Regions from separate parts of the Homo sapiens genome. Here regions 2, 3, 4 and 5 are each linked to region 1. The links are contacts of gene promoters, found by promoter capture Hi-C in blood cells and fetal thymus (Javierre and others, 2016). All regions are on one chromosome and are shown on one strand. Each heading gives the region's core, a stretch centred on a gene start or on the middle of the fragment in contact. The rest is flanking DNA. Distances are from core to core; before and after follow the strand shown. Region 1 holds the start of GFAP (glial fibrillary acidic protein). Region 2 overlaps HEXIM1 (HEXIM P-TEFb complex subunit 1). Region 3 overlaps ADAM11 (ADAM metallopeptidase domain 11). Region 4 holds the start of NMT1 (N-myristoyltransferase 1). Region 5 overlaps PLCD3 (phospholipase C delta 3).

The links. Contacts are between HindIII fragments. The CHiCAGO score rates a contact against its expected background, and 5 or more counts as called.
Region 2: a fragment that was not itself captured here is called in contact with the fragment with the promoter of GFAP in region 1 in 3 of 17 cell types (endothelial precursors, monocytes and megakaryocytes); the score reaches 6.9 in endothelial precursors.
Region 3: a fragment that was not itself captured here is called in contact with the fragment with the promoter of GFAP in region 1 in 1 of 17 cell types (endothelial precursors); the score reaches 5.9 in endothelial precursors.
Region 4: the fragment with the promoter of NMT1 here is called in contact with the fragment with the promoter of GFAP in region 1 in 1 of 17 cell types (endothelial precursors); the score reaches 5.1 in endothelial precursors.
Region 5: a contact is called between a fragment that was not itself captured here and the fragment with the promoter of GFAP in region 1, in 10 of 17 cell types (endothelial precursors, megakaryocytes, erythroblasts and 7 more). The highest score is 14.2, in endothelial precursors.

The regions. Positions count from the first base shown.
Region 1 is chr17:44,914,250-44,917,456 of GRCh38, forward strand. It overlaps GFAP (glial fibrillary acidic protein), which reads right to left and starts at 1,251. Exons shown (of 9, transcript NM_002055.5): 1 at 777-1,251. The coding sequence starts at 1,237. The HindIII fragment of the contact is 16,653 bases long and covers 1-3,207 here.
Region 2 is chr17:45,148,660-45,151,652 of GRCh38, forward strand. HEXIM1 (HEXIM P-TEFb complex subunit 1) reads left to right here. Exons shown (of 1, transcript NM_006460.3): 1 at 1-2,993. The coding sequence starts at 532. The coding sequence ends at 1,611. HEXIM2-AS1 (HEXIM2 antisense RNA 1) reads right to left here. Exons shown (of 3, transcript NR_186789.1): 3 at 1,003-2,260. Among named protein-coding and RNA genes, the nearest start is that of HEXIM1, 1.7 kb to the left of the region's middle. RefSeq lists enhancers at 205-254, 305-354, 405-514, 919-1,474, 1,145-1,204. The HindIII fragment of the contact is 2,947 bases long and covers 1-2,725 here.
Region 3 is chr17:44,773,606-44,777,023 of GRCh38, forward strand. It overlaps ADAM11 (ADAM metallopeptidase domain 11), which reads left to right. Exons shown (of 27, transcript NM_002390.6): 12 at 690-774; 13 at 887-977; 14 at 1,093-1,144; 15 at 1,607-1,706; 16 at 1,789-1,860; 17 at 1,979-2,071; 18 at 2,522-2,602; 19 at 3,140-3,190; 20 at 3,294-3,357. Among named protein-coding and RNA genes, the nearest start is that of ADAM11, 16 kb to the left of the region's middle. RefSeq lists a silencer at 2,286-2,605 and an enhancer at 2,443-2,943. The HindIII fragment of the contact is 6,017 bases long and covers 1-3,418 here.
Region 4 is chr17:45,059,608-45,062,717 of GRCh38, forward strand. NMT1 (N-myristoyltransferase 1) reads left to right here and starts at 1,710. Exons shown (of 12, transcript NM_021079.5): 1 at 1,710-1,853. The coding sequence starts at 1,723. It also overlaps a transcript of DCAKD not described here. RefSeq lists enhancers at 490-1,481, 1,341-1,520, 1,482-2,473, 1,621-1,980, 1,834-2,128 and 1 more. The HindIII fragment of the contact is 9,198 bases long and covers 1-3,110 here.
Region 5 is chr17:45,120,611-45,123,661 of GRCh38, forward strand. PLCD3 (phospholipase C delta 3) reads right to left here. Exons shown (of 15, transcript NM_133373.5): 2 at 601-762; 3 at 292-520. Among named protein-coding and RNA genes, the nearest start is that of MIR6784, 7.7 kb to the left of the region's middle. RefSeq lists an enhancer at 159-696. The HindIII fragment of the contact is 925 bases long and covers 887-1,811 here.

The DNA of each region.
Region 1 (3,207 bases), core at 1-2,500:
CTGGAGGATGAGCAGATGTGGGCTTTTGCCTTAACTCATTACTAAGGTGCCTTATCAGGGTTGGTGCACCTGCTTCTGCTCACACAGGCGCATCCACAAGCATACACTCACTGTTGCACACACACACACACACACGCACATGTCCTCCTGCACTTGAAGGCACACATGCATGTCCTGTCAGCTCAGTGAAGCGCCATGCCCCTGGGGATTCCTCTGATCCCAGGTAACCACCTTTTGAAATGAATTTTATTATGACCACCGCTTCACAGCTGTGCAAGTCAAAGTAACTTGATGGGGGTCACAAGCTGGTGGCAGGCAGTCACCTGTGCTTTGCGCCCAGACCTGCCTGCTCTTTCCCTCACTTTCTTCACCCCAGAATCCAATCTCCCTCATGGACATCAACCTTCTCCGCTTCCAACTCCTCCTTTATATGGACACAGGCTCAGAATAGGTGAGCTCGCTGCCCACAGTCACAAAGCCCAGCCATGAATGAAACACAGGGGCCCCGCTGCTCCTGCACTGCTTTCCCCAGTAGGGAGGTGCTGAGGGGACCCTGGACTCCTGGCAGAAGGCATGCGGGCATCAGATCCCCGGGGCCCTGGGCCTGTTTCTGGTCCCTCCCATCATGTTGGGGGGCAAGGATAGTGCCCCATCAAGAGGTAGGGAGGCCCAGGGAGCAGGGAGGTTCGGCCCCTCCCTGAGACTTCTCGGGCACTCCTTCTTGGGGATTCAGCCCCTTCTGCTCACAAGGCCCCCCTTCCCCATCCCCTCCTCACTTCTGCCTCACAGTGGCCAGGTCCTGTGCCAGATTGTCCCTCTCAACCTCCAGCCGGGCGCTGTTGGCGGTGAGTTGATCGAGCCGCAGCCGCAGCTCTCGCAGCTCAGCCTGGTAGACGTCTGCCAGCTTGGTGGGCTCCTTGGCCCGCAGCTGGTTCAGCTCAGCAGCCAGCGCCTTGTTTTGCTGTTCCAGGAAGCGAACCTTCTCGATGTAGCTGGCAAAGCGGTCATTGAGCTCCATCATCTCTGCCCGCTCACTGGCCCGGGTCTCCTTGAAGCCAGCATTGAGTGCCCCAGCCAGGGAGAAATCCACCCGGGTCGGGAGTGGAGGGGGCATTCGAGCCAGGGAGAGGCGGGTGCCAGGACCCAGACGGCGGCCAGGAGCCAGGCCCCCCACCATCATCTCCCCTGAGGAGACGTAGGAGCGGCGAGCAGCGGAGGTGATGCGTCTCCTCTCCATCCTGCTCTGGCTCTGCTCGCTCCTGGGATGCGAGGGCTTTATGAAGGAGTGGGCTAGACTGGCGATGCCCGGGTGCCCCTGGCAACACCCCCTGGCATAGCCTGAGGGGGTGGGGTTGGGCCGCAGCCCAGCTATGGGGAGAGCTCCCCTCACCCCACTGAGGTCACTGTGCCCAGAGGCAGAGCTTCCTGGGCACGCCAACTCCTGCATGAGGCAGGTGGTACCTGGAGCCAGACCATGGGTCTGGGGCCCTGACCGCTGAAGCAAGAGGACCCTCTCTCTAGGAAGGTGGGTCAAGAAAGGGTTGGTTGGACCATGATGAATACTTACAATTATTATGCATCAATTAAAAAGGAAGGAAAGGGCTGAGTGGGGTGGCTCATGCTTGTAATCCCAGCACTTTGGGAGGCTGAGGCTGGAGGATTGCTTGAGCCCAGTAGGTTGAGGCTGCAGTGAGCTGTGTTTGCGCCACTCCAGCCTGGGCAACAGAGAGAGACCTTGTCTCACAAAAAAAAAAAAAAAAAAGGGAAGGAAGGGCTGTACCAGATGACCTCTGACCTGCTTTCCAACTTTTTGATTTCATAACCCAGGCATTATCTCACTCAGCTGTAAGTGCCTGCAAGGTGCTGGGAATTTGGCGAAGAATGAACCTGTTCTGTACCCTCAAGGGCCACCTCATTTCCTACTAGGCCTCATTCCCAGCAGACTCCTGGAGTCCTTCCCTTGAACACAGATGTCCCACATTCCTGCTCTCTGCCCATTCATTCCCTGGAGTTCTGGGGCTGGGGGCTGGGATTGGACACCAGCCCTTTGTCTAAGGGTCAATCATGGCCTCTATGTGGCAGTGGAGGTCCTGATAGGGCAAGAGGGGGCCGGCACTCTCTTGCCTTATCAGGACTTTAGCCCCTGGATCTGTCCCTCCAGGTCACCCCTTCCTTGTCTGGCCTCCCTGTGCCTCTCTCCCAGAGACCAGGCCTTGACAGCTCCACAAAGCCGTTACACATGAGCTGGCTGTGCTGGCTCGTCTTTATTCCTGCAGCGCCCCGTTTCCCTGGCCACCCCTCCGTCTCCCACTGGAGATTTATTTCCTCGAGTTCCCACACATCAGCCTGGAGAGATGGGAAGAACCTCTGGGGATGGATGGGTTTGGAAACGCTGGAGCCACTGGGCCCAACTAGGAGCCTGAGACCTGGGCCCTGTTGTCCCTGGAGACTTCAGGTCCATCTACGCCCTCCACTCTGGTCCCACAGGGTCAGAACCCTGCCCAGTCCCCTCACCCATTTGTGTCCTTGGACTTCTGGGAAGCAGACAGCCCTCCTCTCCCCCCCTGCCACCCACTGTCCATGCCTGGGCATCCCCTGATCCCCTTTCCTGGGCACAGGCTGAATAGAGCCTTGTTCTCCACCGCCGGTGGCGCCACACAGCAAGGGCAGCCCCTAGGGGGCTGTGCTGCTTTTATCCCAAGATGCCAGGCTGTCAGGCTGGGGTGCAATGCAAGCCCCCTGCTCAATGGGCTTCTCGGAAGGCATTTGAGGGGGGCTGGGGTGCGGCGGGAAGCAGGCACTGTGCCCACCCCGAACATTGTGTCTGTGCCAAGGTGAGTCATTCACTGGGCATGAAGAGGAGGCCCTGGGGGGCGGCCAGCCCAATGCTGCCAGGTCTGCTTGCAGACAAGGCCTGGCTGTCTGCCTCCTCCCCAGCTCACAGAGCCAGCTCAGGCCCCCGAGCCTCTGTCAGAGCAGCGTCCCCTACTCCACACCAGGATATGTTCTTTTTTTTTTTTTTTTTTTTTTTGTCTTTTGAGACAGGGTCTCACTGTTGCCCAGGCTGGAGTGCAGTGGCGCAACCACGACTCACTGCAGCCTCAACCTCCCAGCCTTAAGTGATCCCCTCACCTCAGCCTCCTGAATAGCTGGGACTACAGGTGTGTGTCACCACACGTGGCTGATTTTTTAACTTTTTTTGTAGAG
Region 2 (2,993 bases), core at 2-2,501, 230 kb after region 1:
GCCGGGCCTAGGGAACTGGGAGCTTGGGTGGAAGCGACACCCGTGGAAGTGGGAGGAGGTGGCGCCGGGACTTTAACCCCTTGTGGGCTCTGCGGCAGGGGATTTAACCCTTTGTGGATCTGGCCCCTCGGAGGCAGCGTCATCGGTAGTTTTAACCCCTTCGGGGCTGGGTTTCACGCACTGGACTTACCCTCATCACCTTGCTCACCAACTCCTTTATTGGGGTGCTCCGCTTGGAGGTTTGAGGCCCACCTCCGCCCATTACGTACTGTTCCTGCCGCTGCACCCCCTTGGACCCGCTAGCTGGCCGCACTGTGGGCGCTTAACCCTTTACTGACTTGAGCTCCCCAGATTGCAGTTGGAGTTTGCTGATAGAAGGACTAGCTAAAGGCGTCACTGCAGGAATTACAAACTGAAGAGGACTCTGTTGGACTGTTTTTTTTTTCTTTTTCTTTTTTTTAAGAAAAACCCATTTTTTTCCTTAAGGACTTACTAGCCAAAATTTCTTAAACTTCGAGGACTCTACTAGCCATGGCCGAGCCATTCTTGTCAGAATATCAACACCAGCCTCAAACTAGCAACTGTACAGGTGCTGCTGCTGTCCAGGAAGAGCTGAACCCTGAGCGCCCCCCAGGCGCGGAGGAGCGGGTGCCCGAGGAGGACAGTAGGTGGCAATCGAGAGCGTTCCCCCAGTTGGGTGGCCGTCCGGGGCCGGAGGGGGAAGGGAGCCTGGAATCCCAACCACCTCCCTTGCAGACCCAGGCCTGTCCAGAATCTAGCTGCCTGAGAGAGGGCGAGAAGGGCCAGAATGGGGACGACTCGTCCGCTGGCGGCGACTTCCCGCCGCCGGCAGAAGTGGAACCGACGCCCGAGGCCGAGCTGCTCGCCCAGCCTTGTCATGACTCCGAGGCCAGTAAGTTGGGGGCTCCTGCCGCAGGGGGCGAAGAGGAGTGGGGACAGCAGCAGAGACAGCTGGGGAAGAAAAAACATAGGAGACGCCCGTCCAAGAAGAAGCGGCATTGGAAACCGTACTACAAGCTGACCTGGGAAGAGAAGAAAAAGTTCGACGAGAAACAGAGCCTTCGAGCTTCAAGGATCCGAGCCGAGATGTTCGCCAAGGGCCAGCCGGTCGCGCCCTATAACACCACGCAGTTCCTCATGGATGATCACGACCAGGAGGAGCCGGATCTCAAAACCGGCCTGTACTCCAAGCGGGCCGCCGCCAAATCCGACGACACCAGCGATGACGACTTCATGGAAGAAGGGGGTGAGGAGGATGGGGGCAGCGATGGGATGGGAGGGGACGGCAGCGAGTTTCTGCAGCGGGACTTCTCGGAGACGTACGAGCGGTACCACACGGAGAGCCTGCAGAACATGAGCAAGCAGGAGCTCATCAAGGAGTACCTGGAACTGGAGAAGTGCCTCTCGCGCATGGAGGACGAGAACAACCGGCTGCGGCTGGAGAGCAAGCGGCTGGGTGGCGACGACGCGCGTGTGCGGGAGCTGGAGCTGGAGCTGGACCGGCTGCGCGCCGAGAACCTCCAGCTGCTGACCGAGAACGAACTGCACCGGCAGCAGGAGCGAGCGCCGCTTTCCAAGTTTGGAGACTAGACTGAAACTTTTTTGGGGGAGGGGGCAAAGGGGACTTTTTACAGTGATGGAATGTAACATTATATACATGTGTATATAAGACAGTGGACCTTTTTATGACACATAATCAGAAGAGAAATCCCCCTGGCTTTGGTTTCGTAAATTTAGCTATATGTAGCTTGCGTGCTTTCTCCTGTTCTTTTAATTATGTGAAACTGAAGAGTTGCTTTTCTTGTTTTCCTTTTTAGAAGTTTTTTTCCTTAATGTGAAAGTAATTTGACCAAGTTATAATGCATTTTTGTTTTTAACAAATCCCCTCCTTAAACGGAGCTATAAGGTGGCCAAATCTGAGAACAATTAAATTCATTTTAGTTATAATAAATTTAATATTTGTAAATGTAACATAGTTTCAGTGTGATTTCTAGAGCTAATTCAAAATAGTATTGATATATTTTATGTGACTGCATTTTTGGGGAGGGGTACCGAAATCGTTAAATTTGTCAGTTTGCAAAAATATCAATCTTTAATGGGAGAATTTTCAATTTGCCAATTTTTTCCTTGAATGGGTTTAAGTATGCTACAATATACAGTTCAGGCAAAATTTAAGATGTAATTATCTTCAATACTTAAGTGTGCTTGCTTTCTAGTGCCTTGGTTTTCTTTCTTGATGCTGGAAAAATAAACAAACCGGTATTGAGTGTTTAGGCGAGTGGAAAGTGGCTACAATCCAAAATTTTAAATTTAACTCTGCCTCGGCCATTCAAAAGTCTAATAACAAAAAATGTAAACCTAATTTGGCAGTTTGTTAGGTTAGACAACTGACAGCCTCATTTCATTCCTACAAGTTGGTTTTCAGTAATCTCTTCCTTCCCCCCAGTAAGGCTGGAAGAGGCTCTTGGCAAACTTCTTAGTGCAAGCAATGGTTAGATTAATTTGTGAGGCAGCTCTTTAAGACGTTCAGAGGTAAGAAATACTGGATTTATAAAGCAAATGGCTGTTTGGGGGATTCCAAGGATTTACCTAATTGTCCAATTCTACGTGCTCTCTATACCAAAACAAAAAAAAAAAGCTATCCACCTTTCCATGTGGGTCAAACTAAAATTAGAAATGTCCCCTCACTGCAGATCAAATGTAAAGCTTCCAGTTAAGGAGCTAAATGAGGTCCTCAGCTGAATGAGGAACCCTGTACATCCCCTTGCACAGCCCTATTCTAAATCGCTTAAACTATGCTGATAGCTGCTTAGGTTCTTGAGTAGTTCTGCTCTTAAACGTAGGGAGGCCCTGAGAACTAAATTTTGCCCCAAAATAAAAACAGAAATTATGAGATTGCCTCCTGTCATTTTGGTTAACCCAGTCCTTCACCTGCCCTGTGTCAGTGTCTTCTGAGGGCAATTGCGTTGCTC
Region 3 (3,418 bases), core at 31-2,530, 140 kb before region 1:
GTTGATGCCCTTGTCTTAGCCCTGGTGGTCCTCTTCTGCCTCTCACCTCCCCTTAGTTCTGTCTTTCCCCTTTCAAACTGTCCCAGCATCCCTTCCTCAGGGACCCAGTGCCCTAGTAGGGAAAAAAATCTAATAAAAGGGCCTTGCAACTAGAGATGGTCTACTGGGAGCCTCTCCTTTGCCTTATGGGCAAAAGAACCCAAGGAGGGGCCAGGCGTGGTGGCTCATGCCTGTAATCTCAGCACTTTGGGAGGCCAAGGCGGGTAGATCATTTCAGGTTACGAGTTTAAGACCAGCCTGGCCAACATGGTGAAACCCCATCTCAAAATACAAAAATTAGCCAGGCGTGGTGGTGTGCACCTGTAGTCCCAGCTACTCGGGAGGCTGAGGCAGGAGAATCGTTTGAACCCAGGAGGTGGAGATTGCAGTGAGCTGAGATGGTGCCACTGCACTCCAACCTGGACCACAAGAGTGAAACTCTGTCTCAAAAGAAAAAAGAAAAAGAAAGAAAAAAAAGAACCCAAGGAGGGGGGGAAGGGTCTTGCCTGGGGTCACCAAGGCTGATGTAAAGGGCCAGGCTCACCTCCTGAGGAAGGACTCTAGTGTGAGGGGCTCCCCAAGGCCCCACCACCACCCGGGGAGCCACAGGGGAGGGCAGGAGGCCATCCTGACAGCGCACTCCCTTCCAGGGGCAGGACCTTCCAGAGCACGAGCAGCGGGGCAGCCTACGTGGGGGGCATATGCTCCCTGTCCCACGGCGGGGGTGTGAACGAGGTGAGCAGTGGGGGGACATGGCTGGGGTGGCGGCTGAGGGAAAGGGGCTTCAGGGGCACGACGTGCCTGTTGGAAGATGTAGACATCTGTGCCCCATCTTCCCCACCCCCAGTACGGCAACATGGGGGCGATGGCCGTGACCCTTGCCCAGACGCTGGGACAGAACCTGGGCATGATGTGGAACAAACACCGGAGCTCGGCAGGTATCCTCCCCCAGAGGCCCCCGTGTGGCCCACGCCCAGCAGCTCTGGAACGGGAGGGTGACAGTGGGAGGGGTGGTCCTTGGCCTCCCTCATATCCGCCTGGCTCACCCCTCAGGGGACTGCAAGTGTCCAGACATCTGGCTGGGCTGCATCATGGAGGACACTGGGTGAGTTCTTGGGGACAAACCGGGGGAAGGTCTTGGGCGAGGGGAGTCTTAGAGCGAGCATTGTTTGGCAGTCTGGACCAGGGGGCTCAAGAGGCCCAGCTCACAGAACCACTCAGGATCCCAAGAAGCCCAGTTTTCCGCAAACACTGCCCCGGGAGACCCAGATTTCCCTGCTGGGACACCAAAACCGGCCAGGCTGCAGTGCGCATCGTGGCCACTGGGCGCCGCCCAAGCCTCGCATGGAGACACCTTCCCTCCAGCGCGGCTGCGAGTCCCCAGGTTCAGCGGAGGGGATGGGAGCGACAGGGACAGGCGGGAGGATTCTGGTGCAATCCCGGGGCAGATCCTCCGCCTCCTCGCGATGGTGACGAAGTCCCCCAGTGTACCCCCTCCCCAGCCTTGAGAGGGGTGAGGGTGGGTTGGAGGGGAGCAGCCAGCAGCACCTCCCCTCGCCCTATCCAGGTTCTACCTGCCCCGCAAGTTCTCGCGCTGTAGCATCGACGAGTACAACCAGTTTCTGCAGGAGGGTGGTGGCAGCTGCCTCTTCAACAAGCCCCTCAAGGTACCAGCCCCGCGGCGGGGAGCATGGGAGCGGGCCCTGGGCGGGGTCCGGGCCAGACTCCCGACCTGTCCTCCCGGTCCAGCTCCTGGACCCCCCAGAGTGCGGGAACGGCTTCGTGGAGGCAGGGGAGGAGTGCGACTGCGGCTCGGTGCAGGTGAGCGGTGGTGCGGGCGCCAGGTGGGGAACCGGGATGCGGGGGTGGGCACGAGGGAGCGTCTGAGTGGGAGGATTAGGGCTCGCCCGCCTCCTTCCCCTCCTCCCGCGTCCCTCAGGAGTGCAGCCGCGCAGGTGGCAACTGCTGCAAGAAATGCACCCTGACTCACGACGCCATGTGCAGCGACGGGCTCTGCTGTCGCCGCTGCAAGGTAAGCAGGACCGGCCGGGAGGCGGGGCCAGGACGCAGGAGGAGCGATTGGAGGCCTTCATATAAGGGGTGGGAGCTAGGGAGGGAAGCGGAGCCTTCGGGGACGAAGGCCTCTGGGGCAGGGCTTGATGCGAAGACAGCGCCAATGGGGAGCAAGGGGCGGGGCTGAAGGATGTTGAAGGCGGGGCTACGAGGAGCGGGAAGGGAAGGCTGCCCAGAATCAAGGAGGGGCGGGAAGGTGGGCGGGCTTGGGGGCGGTGCTGAGTGCGCTGGGAGCGAGGTGGGGAGCGTTCAAGAGGTGGTGGGAGCAGGGAAATAAGAACAGGCCTGAAACGGGGCCCTGGGGAGCTGGAGGGCCCGGGGATGTGGGGGTCCAGAGAGCGAGGGGCCTGGGGAGGGCAGGGCCGAGGCATCCATCCTGCCTGACTCGAGGAGCGCGTCTCTTCCCTAGTACGAACCACGGGGTGTGTCCTGCCGAGAGGCCGTGAACGAGTGCGACATCGCGGAGACCTGCACCGGGGACTCTAGCCAGGTCCGCCCGGCCCCGCCGTCTTGTGGAGCCCTGGGCGAGGCAACCCCTACCCTTGTCGATTTGGTTTTCCCGGACGAGTGCTCAGCACTCCCCTCCTCTCCACAGCTGGCATCGACCTCCACTGATCAGACTGTTTTCTTATCTGAGAAAGGGGTTCTTCATGCTCCTGGCCTTGTTCCTTCAATCATTAAACCAGAATGTATCGTCTGGCTGGTATTCCCAGCGCCTGGCCCGGTGCCTGGTGTAGGTTAGGGATCAGAGTAGACGATAATATTAGTTAACATCTATTACAACCTAATTACATGCCAGGCATTTATCTCCCAGCCCTACGAGGGAGGGAGGCTGGAGCGGCTCTGGGGCTTGCAAATCCGTGTGGTCTGGGTCCAGAACCAGACAGATCGCTTGTCCTAGGCGTGGAAGAGCCCTGTGGCATGAGCCCCCAATGGGGGGCACTTGGTACCCCAGCATTCCTCCCTGGGGCAGCCCTCAGCTCCAGTCCTGGGACTGCTCCGCTCAACCCCACCCCTCTCTCCACAGTGCCCGCCTAACCTGCACAAGCTGGACGGTTACTACTGTGACCATGAGCAGGTATGATGGCTGCCCCCTGAGCCTGGGATTCAGGGCAGTCTCTTGTCTCCACTCTGACCACTCAGCATCTCCATCCCTTGCCTCTTAATTCTTGGACTCTCAGGGCCGCTGCTACGGAGGTCGCTGCAAAACCCGGGACCGGCAGTGCCAGGTTCTTTGGGGCCATGGTGAGTCTGGCTAGGGCTGGGAGTGGGGACTCCGGAGGACCCAGAGCTGAGAAGCTGGGGA
Region 4 (3,110 bases), core at 460-2,959, 150 kb after region 1:
AATACGCACTGGAGTCACAGTTACCTTTTAGTAACTGATTTCCTTGAGTGAATAGTGTATCAGAAAATGGGACTTTTATGGTGGCAAAGAATTCAGAGGGCCTGGGGCACACAGATCTGGATTTGTATACCGATTTGCCACTTAACCAGCTATGTGACTGTGCAATTTACCAACCTCTCAGGGCCACATTTTTTCATCTGTCAAAAAGGTCAATATGGCCAGGTACGGTGGCTCACACCTCTAATCCCAGCACTTTGGGAGGCCGAAATGGGCAGATCACGAGGTCAGGAGTTCGAGACCAGCCTGACCAACATGGTGAAACCCCGTCTCTACTAAAAATACAAAAATTAGCCAGGTGTGGTGGCGTGCGCCTTTAATCCCAGCTACTCAGGAGGCCGAGGCAAGAGAATCGCTTGAACCCAGGAGGCGAAGGTTGCAGTGAGCCGAGATCGCACCACTGCACTCCAGCCTGGGAGTCAGAGAGAGACTCCGTCTCAAAACAAAACAAAACAAAACAAAGGTTGAATAATAATAATAGGACCTATATTGTAGACTTGTTGAGAGGATTAAATGAGATAATGTACGAAATGCCTTACTACAGAGTCTGGCACTTATTAAAGAAAGAGTTGATGTGGGCTGGGTGCCGTGGCTCACGTCTGTAATCCCAGCACTTTGCGGGGTTGGGGTAGGAAGATCCTTAGAGGCCAGGAGTTCGAGACCAGCCTGGGCAACAAGGCGAGACCCTCGTCTCTACAAAAAATATATAAATTATCCGGGTGTGGTGGCTCATGCCTATAGTCCTAGGTACTTGGGAGGCTGAGGTGGGAGGATACCTTGATTGCAGTGAGCTGTGATCTTGAGCCATTGCGCTCCAGCCTGGGCGACAGAAGGCGGCCGTATTTAAAAAAGAAAAAAGAAAGAAAGAAAGAAAAGAAAAGAAAAAAAGGGTCGTTGTGGAAAATTCTTGTGGGGAATTAAAGGGACCACGTGTGCGCGAAAGAGCTTGGCGAAGATAAGTACCTGGAGGCCAAGATGAGGCGGCGAGCCCTGCCTCCCTAGCAGTGTGGTCTCCTGGCTTAGGGTCAGTGCTTCGCACAAAAAAATCCACTGCCTCTCATGAGACCTTGAACTGCCAATGACCGCAGGTTGCCCAGACTCCCGAGTGAGGAAGGCGGCCAGGAGTCAACTAGGCTTCTTGCGGAAAAGCCCACTCTAAGAAGGCCTGGGGCATTCCGGCTCCAGGCAGGTAGCACCCGCGGGCCTCAGGCCCTTTCACTTACCCGGGAAACGTAACGGTCCTTAACGGCAGCCAATAACGGCTCCCAGCGGCCCAGGCACTGGCAAGGGCAGGCTGAAATCAAACCTCGGATTTTGGAACCTCCACGCCTGAAACCCTAAACCAGCATCGAACTACAACTCCCATCATGCCAGGCGGCCGCCCGGTTCCCAAGGGTCGGTCCCACCAACCTTGCGCCCCTTCTTTCCTCAAAGCGTGGCCGAATGCCTAGGCTTCCGGGTATCAGTGGCCCCGCCTCTTAATCCGACCGGAGCCGTCCCTCGTGATTCCTGGGTATTGTAGTCAGTTTCCTGGGAAAGAGTCGCTCCTAGTGGCAGCTCGCTTCGCCAGAAAAACTACAAAACCCAGAATGCAGCGCAAATTCCCCTTGTCCAATAGGAACCCCCCATGTAGTGGGGCGCGGAGCCCTGCTCTCGCAACTCAAGATGGCGGACGAGAGTGAGACAGCAGTGAAGCCGCCGGCACCTCCGCTGCCGCAGATGATGGAAGGGAACGGGAACGGCCATGAGCACTGCAGCGATTGCGAGAATGAGGAGGACAACAGCTACAACCGGGGGTAACGAAATCCTCGGAGTCCAATTCCCGTCCAGCCTCCCACAACCTGGGTCTCTGGGGTGCGGGGAAGTCACCGGGAGCTTAGTCTAGCCCCACCCTCATGTTCTTATTGGCTAAGTCACTAGGATTCTGCCTGGCGATTGGTTATTGCCTTTGTCATTTACCAAGGGTGGGTGCTCTGGATATTAAGGGCCGGAGACGTTCAGTACTTTTATTATATAAAAGTTCTATGCAGTGTTCCACTCGTGTGCTTCAGGCCATTCCTGGGAAAAGAGCATGTTGGACGATGGTTTTCGATGGTACAACACAGGACAGTCTAGTAACAGTACAGTTCAAAGGGAACGTTACTTATAGACGTGTTGTTTGAACAACGTGACTAGCAATAAACGAATCATAAAACATTTCGCAGCAGTTCACCCTCAGTGAGGAAACTCATCAGACTATACAAACTGTATGTATAATTATATTGTAAAATATCACTACCAGAGAATCCCAAAATATAAACTCACCTTATAAACCTATGTAATTAACGGTATGGTAATGCTTTGATTTACATAGTTTCCATTGCTCCAAATAATCCATAAGTATCCTGAACGATATATTAATATAATTAAGTCTTCGAACATCTTTGCCTTGTTACCTTTGCAGAGCAGCCCCAGGCTTCAAGAAATGAGCGATGTTGTTTCTTGGAGAGTATTTGGAATCCTCGGGCTCCATACTGCCTATCCTGTACTTTAGGGTCTTGCCATTAGTTACTATTTGTTCCTAGGGATGAAGAAACACACCAGGCATTTGAATGTTGAATTCTTTTCCCAAATTAGTTTTTACTTCTGTAAGCCACAGCTTATTCATCTTTCTTCACATGGTTAGTGCCTGGCACTGGCACTCACGCTGTCTCTCCCCATCTTCCTGTCTATATTTGTAGATATATTTTTAAACTGAAAGTCGTGAGAGATTTTTGGGTGTATAACTTGCTGAGTCTGAGGTAGTCTGATTTTCGTAGCCAGCTTGTTATTCGCAGTATTGGTGGCAGTGCAGATATAAAGGTATAAAGACCAAGGACTGCGTAGAAGAGATGGTCCCACAAGATTATAGTACATATTTTTATTGTATCCTTTCTATGTTTAGGTATGCTTAGATACACAAATACTTACCATTGTATTATAGTTGCCTGCAGTACTCAGTAACATGCAGCAGCCTATTGCTCCTAGGCTACAAACCTGTATAGCATGTTACTGTAATGTACACCATATAGCCT
Region 5 (3,051 bases), core at 99-2,598, 210 kb after region 1:
CTCCTCCGCAGGACTGGGGCTTACCAAAGACAGGAGGCCCTGTCTTCACCCTCAGAAGGCCTCAGGCCTCCCTGAAGGAGGCGCCGCGCCACCCCTCCTGGTGGGAGCTTGGGCCTAGCCAGGGCGCGTGTCCCCACCCTCAGTTTCGAAGACCAAGGGCTCCGACCCAGACCGTGCGCCCTCAGGACAGGGCCCTGCCTTCCCTGGGCGTGGGGGCTCTCCAAGGATGGGGCTCTCCAAGGTTAGGGCTCTCCAAGGATGGGGCCCTCCCTCCCAGCCCCGGCAGGATATTGGTCTAGCCGCTCGCGCTGGCTCATGGCGTCCAGGCGCGCGCGGAGCTTGGTCAGACCGCGCACCCAGCGCTGCGCTTCCTCAGCCGTGGGCGCCGCCAGGTCCAGGTTCTTGCGGCGGCCCTTGAAGGCGATGGTGAGGCAGCGCGCTGGCGCGAAGGCACCCCCGAAGCGCCGCAGGCCCTCGGACTGGTGGCCCTCGCGGACCGCCTCGATGTGCTGCACGAAGACTGAGAGGAGGGCCGGGTCAGGGCGGAGGACCGGGCCTGTCCCCACCTCCCTGTCCGCCCGGCGCTCCCCGGCCTCTCACAGATGTGCTGCGATGGCGCACGCGGGATGCGCCGCTGGAACCACACGCTCAGGCCGTCCTCCTGCAGCCGGTACAGCCGCTCCTTGTGCCACGTGCGCGAGCGGATCTTGCGGAGCCGGGAGCCCCGCAGCATGGCGCGCACGTCCTCGTCCTCCGTCAGGCCTGGCGGGGCGGGAGGACCCGGGGCGTCAGGCCGTACCTGCCCAGAGGCTCCCCTGCCCTCCCCCGCTAGGACCTGCTGCCCCATCCTCCAGCCTCTCCAAACCCAGGCCTTCATCCCACAGTAAGCTTCCCTCCCCCTCACAGGACTCCCCTCCTCCCCGATTGTAAGAAGCCTCCTGCACTGGGTTTGGCTTTAGGCTTTGGAGCCCTAAACGCCCCCCAACCCGTACCCCATCTCCCTCCTTCCTTCCAAGCAGCGGCCTCTGCAGTCCCTCAGTGTGGAACTGCCCTCGGACAATGCCTGGGACTCAGGCCTCACTAAAGGTTGCCCTTTCTGGCAGGGCGCGGTGGCTCACGCCTATAATCTCAGCACTTGGGAGGCCGAGGTGGGTGGATCACTTGAGGTCGGGAGTTCGAGACCAGCCTGGCCAACATGGTGCAACCCCACCTCTACTAAAAATACAAAATTAGCTGGGTGTGGTGGCACATGCCTGTAATCCCAGCTACTTAGGAGGCTGAGGTTGCCATGAGCCAAGATTGTGCCACTGCACTGCAGCCTAAGCGACAGAGTGAGACTGCGTCTTAACAAAAAAAAAAAAAAATTGCCTTTTCTGCCACTATCCCCCACCACATGGCTTCCAGCCTTCAAGTCCAGAATTTGCCACCAACAGCCTTTTTCCCTTGATGTGAAACCGTAGCCATCAGGAAGGTCTCACCATCTAACCTAGATCTCTCTTGCTGTAACCCAAGCACCTTGCCTCTGCTTTCCCAAAGACAAGGAGGACAGCAGAGGCCACCCTGGCTCCAGGGTCACAGGCCAAGGACTCCAGGATCAGCCCTGCCCAGCTGATCTCCAGGCATGGGAGGCTGAGGCATGAGAATCACTTGAATCCGGGAGGCGGAGGTTGCAGTGAGCCAAGATTGCGCCACTGCACTCCAGCTTGGGCAACAGAGTGAGACTCTGTCTCTAAAAAATAAATAAATAAAAGCATCTCCTGTGTGCAGGCCCTGCTCATGTACTAATAGACAAGGAAACTGAGGCTCAGGGAAGCTTAAGTAAGTTGTCAGAATTCCATACTGGTAGAAGCCACTTTGGGCTCTGGAGGTCGGGGTCCAGCGCCTCTGACCTTTGGCCCTGCACTGCACGGCTCTTCTAGTGCTTCTAAATTCCGAAGTCTGGGGAGTAAGTCTCAACACTGTCACTTCCCAGTTATTTAATACATGGCCCCAGTGGCACTAACCTGTCACTAAGCCTCATGTTCTCCATCCATAAAATGGAGACCACAATCATACCTGCTGCAAAATCCAAAATTCAGAGGTTTCTACAGCGTGACCGACACTGTGCCCCGGAGAGTTTCGGCCCTCTCCTGGCTCTGGCCCCCTGGAACACGTGATGCCCAGCCCAAACAGTGCCACACCCTGCTCTACAATGCCTCAACGAGAGTCACAACCAAAGATTTTTGAGTCAGAGGACAATAGAGGAGGTGGGAACTGGGTAAACGGAGAGTCCATGGCCTTTGGAGGTGGGGCACAGCCCGGAGTGAATGAGGGCCCAGAGTTTCCAGAGAACCGAATATAGATCTGTGTGTGAAGCCTCCAGATATTCTAATGTTGACAACGAAATCAAATTGAAAAAAAATAAAAATCAATAACCCCTGTGTGGGCCAAAAGAAGTAAGACAGAGGGCCTCTCTTCCTCCCTTTATTTCGACAAGCCCCTAATACTGGGTTTGGCTTTGTGACCCCAAGGCCCTGGCTTGCCCAATTGCAAATTCTGACCTAAGGAATTGAGTCTATATCTCTGGACCATCTCCTCTCACCCTCTCTTGGACCCTTTTGTAGGATCCTTCTCCCTTCTCTTCCTCCTATCTGAGTCCTTGAAGGACCAGTTCAGATATCACCTCCTCCAGGAACCCTTCCTTGATTTGTCCTCAAGTGGACATTCTCCCTCTCTGACCACTAACAGCACTTTTTGCTTTAATTAAAATAAAACACAAAACCCACCTATATACTTTAATAAATCTGAGGGCGGAATGAGGTCTTATCTCCTCACCACAGTGCTCATCCCAGAGCCAGGATACCAGCTAGTGTTGACTGAAGGGGCAGACAGGTAGACGGACAGATGGGGGGACTAAGTGAATTCTATCCCCAGCTCTGCCCCATCTGTCCAGAGTTCAGGACAGAGGCCTCGCAGGGCAGAGGCCTCGCAGGTCAGGGTTTCTCAACCTTAGCTGTGCATCGGAATTACCCAGGGGAGGCTGCAGACACCACAGCCCAGGGCATCTCACCC